Linked DNA regions of Homo sapiens: region 2 is linked to region 1. Evidence: promoter capture Hi-C in human tissues and cell types (Jung and others, 2019). All regions are on one chromosome and are shown on one strand. Each heading gives the region's core, a stretch centred on a gene start or on the middle of the fragment in contact. The rest is flanking DNA. Distances are from core to core; before and after follow the strand shown. Region 1 holds the start of TEX35 (testis expressed 35). Region 2 overlaps RASAL2 (RAS protein activator like 2).

Evidence for each region. The method cuts DNA at HindIII sites, captures the fragments that hold promoters and counts their contacts. A contact is called where the count stands out against the background at its distance.
Region 2: a contact is called between a fragment that was not itself captured here and the fragment with the promoter of TEX35 in region 1, in 1 of the 25 tissues and cell types used here (dorsolateral prefrontal cortex).

Annotation. Positions count from the first base shown.
Region 1 is chr1:178,509,336-178,514,704 of GRCh38, forward strand. It overlaps TEX35 (testis expressed 35), which reads left to right and starts at 3,774. Exons shown (of 9, transcript NM_032126.5): 1 at 3,774-3,892; 2 at 4,692-4,742; 3 at 5,365-5,369. The coding sequence starts at 3,854. LOC101928866 (a long non-coding RNA gene) reads right to left here and starts at 3,715. Exons shown (of 6, transcript XR_001738307.2): 1 at 3,307-3,715; 2 at 2,741-2,947; 3 at 1,646-1,724. The HindIII fragment of the contact is 4,578 bases long and covers 2,434-5,369 here.
Region 2 is chr1:178,471,825-178,478,001 of GRCh38, forward strand. It overlaps RASAL2 (RAS protein activator like 2), which reads left to right. Exons shown (of 18, transcript NM_170692.4): 18 at 1,251-6,177. The coding sequence ends at 1,415. Among named protein-coding and RNA genes, the nearest start is that of CLEC20A, 22 kb to the right of the region's middle. The HindIII fragment of the contact is 4,100 bases long and covers 1-3,979 here.

The sequences.
Region 1 (5,369 bases), core at 2,524-5,023:
CAGGAAAGTATAGCGGAGATTAGCTGCCTGCCCCATAAGCCTGTCTCCTCTTATTCTTGGGAGAAACCTGGCCATATTTCCCAGCCTCTTTTGCAGTGAGATATGGCCTTGTGATTATATTCCAGCCAAAGGAATGTGAGTGGGAGAGACGAGGGCTATTCCCAGGACTAACCCAAGAAACCCTCCCATCTGAGACGTTCCACTCTCCATGGACCCTGTGTGAAGCATAGTCCCCCAGCAAGGCCAGCCCCAAGAGGCTACTGTGCCACTCAGTTTGATTGTTTCAGTGATGGATGGGAATTTGAAGCTGTCAGAGGTGGACAGGAGGCTATTAGGGGAGGGAATCTCAACTGCAGAGCACCTTCCGGCAGGGAAGCTGAGAGAGACAGGCGTGAAATCATCACTGTACTCTATTTGGGTTCCATCCAAAGAGGGTAAAGGGAACTGGCTAAGTAAGGAGGCCTCAGGAGCCCTGTTTGGCAGGAGCAGGGAGAGCCTCTGCTGGCTGGCGGTGTTGTCTTTATCTCACATGGTAGGTGCCCTGTGATGGTTGGTTGTGGGAAGAGTAGCAGTTTCCCCTGGGTCTCAGAAGGCCCTGGCAAGCATAGGCCTGTCATGGTGAACTTACAGAGAAGATCCTTCCACAATACATTTGCTCAGACTTTTCACTTGTCATTGGCTGTATTGAAATAGCCAGAGATTTACAATGATCTGTTCAGACTGTTATGTTTTGTTGCTGAAATAGAGGTACCAGGAAGTTCATATGATAAAAACTGGATATAAATTTTCCAAAGAAACAACATAATAGGATTATGATTCCAGCCAAGGTCTGATACACTATGATAAAAATGATCAGAAATTGCATAGTAATCAGTGTGCCAATGATAAAAGCTATTTCTACTCTGCTCGGAGTAAAGCTTTCCAAGGTGTCTATAAATCAGTCAAGTAGGATGACACAGGAATCAATCATATGAGATCTCTAAAAATGTCATGTAAGAGGATCTCATGTAAGATCGTCTCTGGCTGAGGGCAGCCACCCAGATACTGCAGCCTGTTGGGATGTAAACAGCCAGGGCATCCTAAGTGTGAGTCGTCTAGGTCACATGTATTGAGCCGTGTCTGTTTGAGTTTGACTGGACAGCAAAGCCTGTGGGATTCTGGGTCTTTGTGAAATGTTCCACCCTAATCAAAGGACTTTAGAACATTGGGCCCCCAGTGGTCGAATAGGCCCCTCAGCACGCATGATGTTCTCTTCATGTTCTCTGGGCCTTGACGCAGGGAGTGGCTGAGCCTGGACCTCATCATGGGCCAGACCCAGAATCACAAAATGCCAAACTCAGAGGCTTAAAACCATTTTAAAATTCCCCCCGACCCCAGCCTCCCCTCACAACACTGTATCCTTAAAACTGAAAAAAAAAAAGCAGGACCCTTGTAAAGAAAATGAAACCCAAATGATATCAACTTGGAGAACAGAGACAGGTGGCTGCTTCTTTCTGTCTGTTGTGAATATTCCTTTTCCCCCAAACTCCGATGGAGCAGCAGTGGGCTCTATGCTGCTTGCCCTGGTACAGAGGGGTTTTGCCCTGAAGGGGGATTAGGAAAAGCGTGTCTGGCGTTCTTCAAGTAAGAACGTCCTATGGCTTACCTAGAACAAAGTCACACCACAGCAATACCAACACTGCAACACTGCTTCAACCTCGTTTCTCTTGCAGGTGCAAAAGCTTCTTAAAAGAATATGAGAATCATTATTCAGACTGGGCATGGTGGCTCATGCTTGCAATCCTAGCACTCTGGGAGGCCGAGGTGGGAGGATCCCTTGAGCTCAGGAGTTGGAGATCAGCCTGAGCAACATAGTGAGACCTTGTCTCCACAAAAAAATTTTAAAAATTAGCTGGGAGTGGGGTGGCGCATGCCTGTGGTCCCAGCTACACAGGATGCTGAGGCAGGAGAATTGCTTGAGTCCAGGGGTTCGAGACTGCAATGATCCATGATCATACCACTGCACTCCAGCCTGGGAGAAAGAGCAAGATCCTGTCTCTTCATAAATAAATAATCAGTATTCAGGTTCGCCACGTGGATTCCCCCAGCCCCGCCAGAATATATCGATAAAACAATGGTGTACAATGTTTGAGAACATGAATAGTAAACGCTGTGAGAAGGCACAAGCCCAGAGCTGTGGCTCTGTAGTTAAAATTCTGCCCAAATGATAATACCATGTGTACTTGTGTATATATACATAGATAATTTTTTACTTTATAATGCAGCTTTGCATTGAGACCCTGATTTCTCTTAGACCTTCTTTCCTAATAGATAGGCCAGTGGGCTCATGTGCTATGCTTGGCTAGAAGGCAGCTCATTTAACAACTGCTCAGCCAAGCAAGGGAAGCTCTACTGCAGGTCCAGGAGGCCCCCAAGCCAAAATTAGCAGAAGGAGGTGGGGCACATTTTCACGGGGCTGGTGGATGTTGAGATGGAGTCAGTCATTTTCACTGTAATTCCCTTAGAGGAAGGGCATTCCTACCACGAGGCCATCAGATCTGAGAGGGCTGAATTAAAAGGTCCAAGGAAACTGAAAAGTTCCAGCCCCTCATTTATAAGTGGGGAAAGTGAAGCCTGGGAAGCTGGTGACCACCCCCAACTCCCTCTCCTTCCGCTGATGCAGTGGCAGACACATTCTCCTCTGGCTATGGTGGAGTAAGACCCACAGCTGTCACCAGTGTCAGGGCTGGGAAATCACCACCTAGGAAATGCATCAGAAGTGCTGCAGGTGGCTCCAGAAGTTCCAGTGGCCTCCAGGAAGGATAGTCCCAAGCAGGTGTGTGAAATGGGAGGGTAAGTGTGGTCAGTAGTGGCCTGCATGGGGATGTCATTCACATGCAATTTGCATTAGTTCCTGTACTCCTGTGCTGTCTGTCCTCAGATGTCCATGTTGGCCTTTTCTGTGCAACTAGCAGTTGAAATGAGAGGGAAGAAGGAAGTGAATGACCAGTGATAAGAGGAAAAGAGAAATCAATTTCACCAACCCAGATCCCCAGTGATTTTTTATCCCATGGGGTGCCATGTTCCTCTGACTGTCTACTTTAGCACAAACTATGGCTACCCGCAGAATGGCCTTTTCTTTAGTATTCTTCATTTGCCCGAAAAGCTTCTTATCTTTAGCTTCTTGTCCCAACCCTCTTCCCGGATGATAGAAGAACTAGGAAAAGAGAATTTTTAGGTGGGCAGGGGTCTGGGGGTGGTTGTGGGACAGGGGCAGTGTGAGGTCAGAGGCATCAGAAACCATCCTGCTGAGACTGGCTACCCCACCTCATACAGAGTAACCCAGGTTAAGTGAGACGGTGCATGCACGTTGAACCAGAGAGACTTCATGGCATCCTCCAGCCCAAGGTGGCTTCCGGTCCGAGGTGGGGTCGGTTCGCGCGAGGAGCGCACAGCAGAGGACATGGGCTGTGCGCTCAGAGGAGGAGCTGGCTGTCCCTGGAGGACGTCCTTCTGAGTCAGTAGGTGAGTCCTGCTGCAGAAGGAGCCACTGCTTCTGACGCGTGCCTTGCACTTCGACCGTAGCAGGCCATGATCCTCCTCAGTGTGGACTTTCCTTCTGTTGCAAGAGGGAGGCCTGGTGGGACTCTGAAACCTGGCCTGAACCCCTCATCTCAGTGGCCGAAGCCCCCCAGGCCTGAAGCTGTGGTGACGCTCTGGACCACCATGTGGGTCCTGGCATTGTGACCTCAGCTGTTCCGTACACAAAGGGGTGGTCACCCTGCCCTCACCTTGACCTGTAAGTTGCCTAGGACAGTGGCCTGGTCCCAGGGGCTGTTGTGGGGAGTTGAAGAACACCCTGGCCTCCTCCATCATGTCGGCCAAGAGGGCAGAATTGAAGAAAACACATCTGGTAAAAGAGAGACATTGCTGGACAGTGTGGGTCCTCTCTGAGCTCCTACTGAATGGAGATGGTGTCGGGGCAAGGGATACAGAGAATGCTCGCATGAATCTCTGGTTTTTCTTTCTCTGTACTGAGCATAAAGCAGCCTCTCAGTCTGGAAGGGGTGTGGGATTAATCCCTAGCCTTGGGGGTGGGAAGGAAAGAGGCCTCTGCTGCCTCCCTCTGGGGATGAGGAGCACTGCCAAGGGAGCACTCCCTACTCCAAGACCACTCATGGTTCCACGGCCCATGCCAGGCCTGCCAGGCCCACATCTAACCAGCAGGGCTAAGGCTCAGAATAACCTTATTAGATAAATATAATCATCACGTCGATTTTATAGATGAGGAAATGGGGGCTCAGAGAGGCTAAGCAACTCACCCAAAATAACAGAGATAGTAGAGAGGTCAGCTGAGACTATAGTGCAAATCTGCCTATGGCCAAAGCCCTTGCTCTGGAAACAACACTTCCGGGGCTTGCTTCTAGTTATCTTAAAGTGCTTTCTCCACGCTGGCGCCTCCAGCAGGGAGAGGGCTGCCTGCCAAATAGGCAGACACACGCCCATAGGAAGAGGACAGCACGACAAGATGTGATTTGTTAGGAATCGGATCCGGGTGCTGCGGGGTCTGTGAGCCTGAGCTCAAGCCAGTTGGACAGGCAGGGTTGCATGGTTGTGGGGGGCAGGGGGCAGGGTTCCCGTGCAAGGGCCAGATGTTCTCCTCCCCAATCCTGATGTCTGCCAGCCTGAATCTCAGTCTCCTCTTTTTGCAGAGCAAGAACTACAAGGCAGTTTGCCTGGAATTGAAGCCAGAGCCGACCAAAGTAAGAAGCCCTTTTGAGGCCATGCAGGCAGCCAGGCCTGAGATCCATGGGGAAGTGACCAGGAGTCAGGGGTCATTTGCTGATCCTAGTGGCCAAGATTTGTCCCAGGTGCTGGGGGATGCACTGAGAGTTCTTGCTCTCATAGAACTTCACACTGTAACCAATCAGATACATAAACGAACAAGGACTCATTCAGCAGTGTTACCTGCTCTGCTGGGAATCAAGACAGGGAGACATGTCTGAGTGGCTGCCGTGGAGTGGGTGGTAGGGAAAGGCCTTCCTTTGAGCTGAGAGCTGAAGGACAAGACTCTGGCTTTGCAAAGGCAGAGTAAGAGCCTTCTAGGCAGAGGAGGCAGCATGCACTGAGGCCCAAGGTGGGAATGAGCCTGGCTGTTCAAGGGACAAAAGGAGCTGAGGCCCCGTGGGCCAGCAGGGGAGTGGAACAAGATGAGCTGAAAGAGGGAGGAGGATAGAGGAACCTTCTGCACAGGTGGGGCCACCAGCTTTCCTCTTGCCTTAGCCCTAAGGGAGGAACAGAAACACAGGGGGATCTCTTCTGCCTCTGCACTTCCACCGCCCATCTGCAATTCCCAAAGGTCTGTGTTCCTGTTTCAATCCACAGACATT
Region 2 (6,177 bases), core at 680-3,179, 39 kb before region 1:
ATGACAGCCCTGGGTAGCTGCTGTTTTAATAGCAAGGAGCAGCACCAGCCCTGAGCCCTGCTACTTCCTCTCTGAACTTTACCATGACTAAACTTTACCATGCTTTTCTCAGGGTCAATTTTAAAAACCCCTAAGGTAGTAAAACTCCTTTTGGCTTTGGAGGTATTCCCTATGTGTTATTTTCTTTTTAATTTTACAGGCATAGGTAAAGACTGTTTCCTGCGTTGTTTTCTGAAAACTATAGACTTCATGTTAGAAAGGTTCTAGAATGATTTACTGAGCTGCTGAAGCTAAGATTAGGGTATCTCTTCTAACCTAATCCTTAGGAGACTGATAATGTTTTGATAAAATGATTTTATTAAAAAAATTTTAGATAGTCCTACTTTCCTTTAGTTAGACTGCCTATTTTTTTTCCTCTTTTCTTCCCCCTTGGTTTTTGTGTGTGTGTATTCACCAATGCTTGGTTTCCAAATATTGTTTCTAAAGCATTTTTTTTCAGAGACTCAAAAGTAAAATGAAAGCAATCTCCGTATTGGGCAGCCCTCCTGGAGTAACTTTGAGCTGGAATGGGTCTAGGAGCCTGTGTTCTCTGTTTGTTCTCATGTGTTATGTTGATGGCATTCCCTTTTCGGCACATCTCCCTCCCCATATTCAAGTAACTCCTTGGTCTGAGCTTTTTGGCTGCTTTTTTCCCCTCTTGCTGTTGCAACCTCACCTTGTTGGTGACTCTACACTGCCACCATGTATTGTTTTAATTTTGAGCACAATGTGAATTCCTTCCAAATGTGACTGATATGCCCTCTTTTGGGGCTAAGAACCCATAGATCACATGCTCTTCTCCTCTGTGAAATGAAACCTCTGGTGCTTCTTTCTTTGCCACCTAATTTCCATGTTTCAATTTTGACCTAAAGCACTTAGTATAATAAGGCAGCTTGATACCTGTGTTGCATAGTCTGAGGTAACACATGGTATCACTTTTACATGACAGTCTAATGTCCCAAGAGATTGTTAATAAAAAGTCCTGCTATGCTGAAAGAAAAAGAGAGAGAGAAAAAAATAAACACAGATCCACTGGGCTCAGGGGAAGCTGAACCTGACCAGTGTGCAGAAAGAGGCAGAGACGTTCCATTTGTCTGGGAAGCACCATGCATACAACTGTTTGAGAGAAAGCACTGGACTAGTCATTCAGTAAAGAAAGCGTGTTACCTCCTGCCTGTAGCCTGAATAAAGCCATGATTGGTGTGTTGTAGGAAAAACGGATCGTGTCCCTGGATTCAGCCAACACCAGACTGATGAGCGCGCTGACCCAAGTGAAGGAGCGGTACAGCATGCAGGTCCGCAATGGCATCTCCCCCACCAACCCCACCAAGCTTTCCATCACGGAGAATGGTGAATTCAAAAACAGCAGCTGCTGACGGGCTTTGTCTGTGGAAGGAGACAGAAGGAAATTGACCCACTCTCCTATCTCCAGACCTTTACCTAGCCCCTCCAGGTTTACAGAATGTTGCTACTTCACAATGGCGATGTGGTGAGAAACTCCTGAATGAAGAAAGGAACCTTGTCTTTCAGGGCATAAGGCGGCGACTTCCAAGGTCAATGCTTTTCCCCCACATCTCTATGTACATAGGGAACTTAGTTCTGGGCCATGTACAGAAAATATCACTGTAATATACCAAAAGGAAGTTAATAATGTAGATTACCTTTTTGATTATTGCTATTTTTATTATTGTTTTCCTCTTGTTGAAAGCACTGCAGTTGTTACAGGAAGTAAAGTAGGAACTGTTGTGTGAGCGAGACATGAGCCTGTAGGTTCAGTAGGTAGAGACCAAGCATCTATCTGATAGAAGCACATGGAGTGCAATAGGACATTGTGAGAAGGAATTTTTCAGGGATTCATCTACTAGTTTAAAAACCCCACTCTGGCCCTCTTGTCCTTTCAGAAAACATGCAAATACCAAGATCCATACAAAACAATAATTTATTCCACTGATCAACCAAGACTGGTTCTGGTTGGACAGCTAATCTGATTTGGGGATTCACTGTTTCAGAGGACACAGACAAAAGCTGTTGCATCAAAACTGGACTTTAGGAGTAATTTCTATTGAACTCCTGTCAATATGTTTATTTCCTCTGTCTACAGCAGATGGGAGTCTTCTCTTTTAGACAGGGGCTTTTTGTTTTTAACCCCAATTGTAATAAAGGGTGTTCTTTTTCCTCTTTAGAGTTTACAAAACTATAAATATTTGTGTCTCCACATACCATCTTCATCTTCACACATTCACTGTGCTTTCCTCCCCATAGTGGGAGCTGTCATCACCAACAGGGTTTACTCTCCCCTGGAGAGGTTATTTAAATAGCTGTCCATAAGCCATCCAGATCAACACCCTTTCTTCCATACAGAAAAGGGCTAACCATACCACAGCTGGAATCTCTGAATATTTCCTATTAAAAATTTTTTCTATGTGTTGTTATAATTTTTGTTTGGGATAAAGACTCTATCCATTGTACTAGCAAATCTATGGGGGGTAATTTTATCTCCATCTTTAACTTTTAAAGTACTTCTTCCCCTTATCCCCTCAATAAAGAAAGGAAATCCAAATTTGAAGCATCACTCTCTTAAAAGAAAAAGAAAATAATGGAAAGTGTCAGGATGGCACATTCCAGTTATTATTCCAATGCTCGTAGATCTGACAATAATGACCCAATTTCAACACTTGTCATCCATAGCCTTATTATTATAGAACAGAAAAAGTCATGGAAACGAATTCATTTCCTTTTTTCCAGAGGTGTGCAATGTCATCTTGAATGCAACCTTGATTACCAGAAGTATGGAAGGTTACATGTTAAACAGACATTATATATACAAATATATATATAATATATATTCACACATATGTACATATAACTGCACAAATAGGAAAAGTTCATGCCTTCTATGCTGTTCAGATATAATGTTAAAAGGGTCTCAAACCTCTTTAAGCAAGATCTAAGTAGTTGTTTTATATTGAGAAAGCAACAATGTTTCTCGAATAAGTTGATGTTGATTTTAAATTATAAGCTTTAAAGAATTTTTTTTCTAGAAAAAGGGGATGGAAAAAAAAGGACCTGAGGGAGCCATATGCATCAAGTGAGTGTTTCTCCATAACAGAATATTTATAAGAGAACATGTATAGTGCCCTCTTTTGAGTGATGCCGACAGACACCAAGCCCTCCTTTTCACCAAGTCCCAGGCTTGCATTCCAGCCTCTTGAGCTCTGCCCTCTCTCAGGTGGATCTTTGTGTTGGACCTTACGTTTCAGCAACCTCACCATGGCCACATAACCCACAACCTTTTAAAACAGTTTCTTTCATAGCAATCCCTGTTTCTGCCAGACAGATCTAAAATGGGAGTTTCTCACTGTGTTTATCTGATCTGCACACTTTATATCCAGCTGTTTTGGCACTTTTACGTTTTCTTCACCTTTGGTTTTGGTTTGCAAATTCTTACACCTTCTCTCCAAGCGGAGGGCACACTGTGGTCAAAATCACTTATTTTATTAGGAAAAAGAGGTAACTGTTCCAAAGTGTAGTGTCCTTTGTTGAAGGAGGAGGGATGTAAGCATAGATTTGTTCTTGTTTCTGGCTATTCTCAGCTCAAGCCATGTTTAATTCATTCTTTGTAAAAGCCTTCAATTGTGCCACAGAAAACCTGGTAAGAGAATTGTCAGTTTCATTGGCCATAAGTATGTAATGTGGGTGATGTCTTGCCATTGAGGTTTGGAAGCTCTTAAGTGCCGATTATGGATTACAGAGGGCTGATAAAATTACTTATATTGGGAATTGAGAGAAGCCCCAAAAAATCAAATGTGCTTTTGATGGATAGAGTGTATCTTATTAGCATTATGGGAGCTCCTTAGAGGGCTGTCTTCACTGAAAGATTTAATGCCCAAAACATTTGGACAGATTATGCAGCCTTCTACTACCAGGTTATCTTGAATGAAGAAGAAATAGTAAAAAATAATAATAATAGAGCATTACCAATAAGCTAAAAGTTCAGAGTTGCTGATAGATGTTAAATGTTAAGTTATCCTGTGAGCCTACTCCTGTCCAACCTTTTTTCTCAGTATTTCTTTAGAGAATGCTGCAATCTGTATAAGTTACTCTGAAGGATTTTTTAAGAAGAGAAGCCACCAACAGGTGATAATTTTTATGGAGATGTTTCTTAATTGGCTTTCCCTCAGTTCAAGTAGGTAAATAACTTTGTTTGCTGGGAGGAGGTACATGGCTGAAGAGAGGCAAATAGATTAAGATAGCAATGTCTTGCACTTCCTGTTTCCCTCAAAACAACACCACATTGTGGGGCGCAGGATAGATCAGGGTTGAGTGGAATTTGGAATTCAGGTGAAGTGCTTGTAAAGTGCATGTCTAGCTGACAACAGACTTGACCATTAATGAGGACAGTGTTGGTAGGAGTCAGAAAAGAGCTTCATATTCCCCTTTTATATTACTGAAGCAATAAGCAATCTGAGCTGAAGCAGCAAAAAGAGTCACATTTCCATCAGGTCATCATATTCCCTGAGTCTCTGCAGCAAAAGCCATGTCAGAGGGGAGATTATAACTAGGTAACTATAACAAGCACTTGAGCACTTACCATGTTCCAAGCACTATCACCAAGGTACTGTTGGGGTTTATGGCAGTCTAACGGTAAGAAAAATGTGGTAAAATGAGGTAATCATGCTGCTATAGCTTTTTGCTTTTTTTCATATAGTATCAAGTTGGTCAGAATTAGCTTTCTCTGACTGGTCTGCTTCCGTGTTTCTCTGTGATGGTGTTAAGATTATGAAAGAAAAAGAAGATTACCTAAGACTGCTACAAGTGTTAACTATATGCCCTTAAGAATGAGCTTGACTTTGGAAGTAAAGCTTTTCAGATCTTAGTCTACCCGGGGCCTTTGTTGATGGGTCTGTGGTTCTGTAGACCCCTGGCTTTCACTGTGTTCTCAGAGGTACACCAGATTGAGAGCAGAGTTCTTCTTTGGAAGTCCCAGAGCAAAATAACTGCCATCAAGTGAGTTTGCATTCGTATTTGTTTCCCCTTCCATAGAGGGTTAGTTTTAGTTACCTCTAGCTTGGAGTTCCTGAGAAGGCTGGTTATAGGACTGAGCGTGGGAAAGGAACCCTCTTCAGGATTACCTCAGTCCCATCAGTCTACCCCATTGTGACATTGAGCCCAACACACACGCTTGACACCAGACTAGACTTGTCACAGGGCCAAACCCAACAGCCACATGCCATAGCTTCACTGCATTTTCAGCTACACCTTTGGAGGCCACCTTCTCCTATCAACTGTGGAAAGCCAGAAGGGCTCCCTTCTCCATTCTCCTTCCCTTTTTCAAGTCTAATAGTGAAATCTCCTGCTTACCCCAGCAGTAAATAGTTGCCTTCCTACCCCTTACCTGGGGGCCGATAATTTGAGATACTTTGTTTTTTCAATGCGTCAGTTGAAGGATTTAGTTTCTTAAAAGCAAGAAATGTTGGAGTGTTGAATTTTTAAATAGAATCTCTTTTCATGTTTGAATGATTGTTATTAGTTCTAGAAGCATTCTCTTTGTCATGACCCGATTATGTATACTCTTGGGTTTAGGAAGGACAAAAGTGATGAAATTTGCATGAGATAGAATAAATATCTTAGGAGGAGTGAAAGAACCTGAGGAAGAGACACGACCCTAAGGGAATGAATGCATAAGCAGTCTTCTCAGTAGCCCAGAGTTTCCAGGAAACAGGAATATTTATATCCCTTGCCCACTCTTAAAATACATAGATACATAAAAAGGCAGTCTCTGTAGACAACACATGCACACACCCACACAAAACATAATTCCTGGGGCTTCCTTTTTCTGAATGTTAATCCATTTTATCGAGCAGTGATTCCCAAACTTTGAGATTTTCAGATTTTATGCTCTCGTCTGTTAGATTTTATGACATTCTATCATCCTAAAAAATGTACTATATGTGTTATATGTATATATAAGTTAAAGCAACTTGAAATTGACTTGGTTTGGCATTGTCTCAAGAACCCTAGATATCATTATTGATACCATGGGGAATCATAGAAATAAAGTTGAATATCATTGATCTGAGAGTAGGATCCAGAAATAAGTAGTTTCAGTTCCTGATCAGTTAAGCCTCAAGTGTTTGA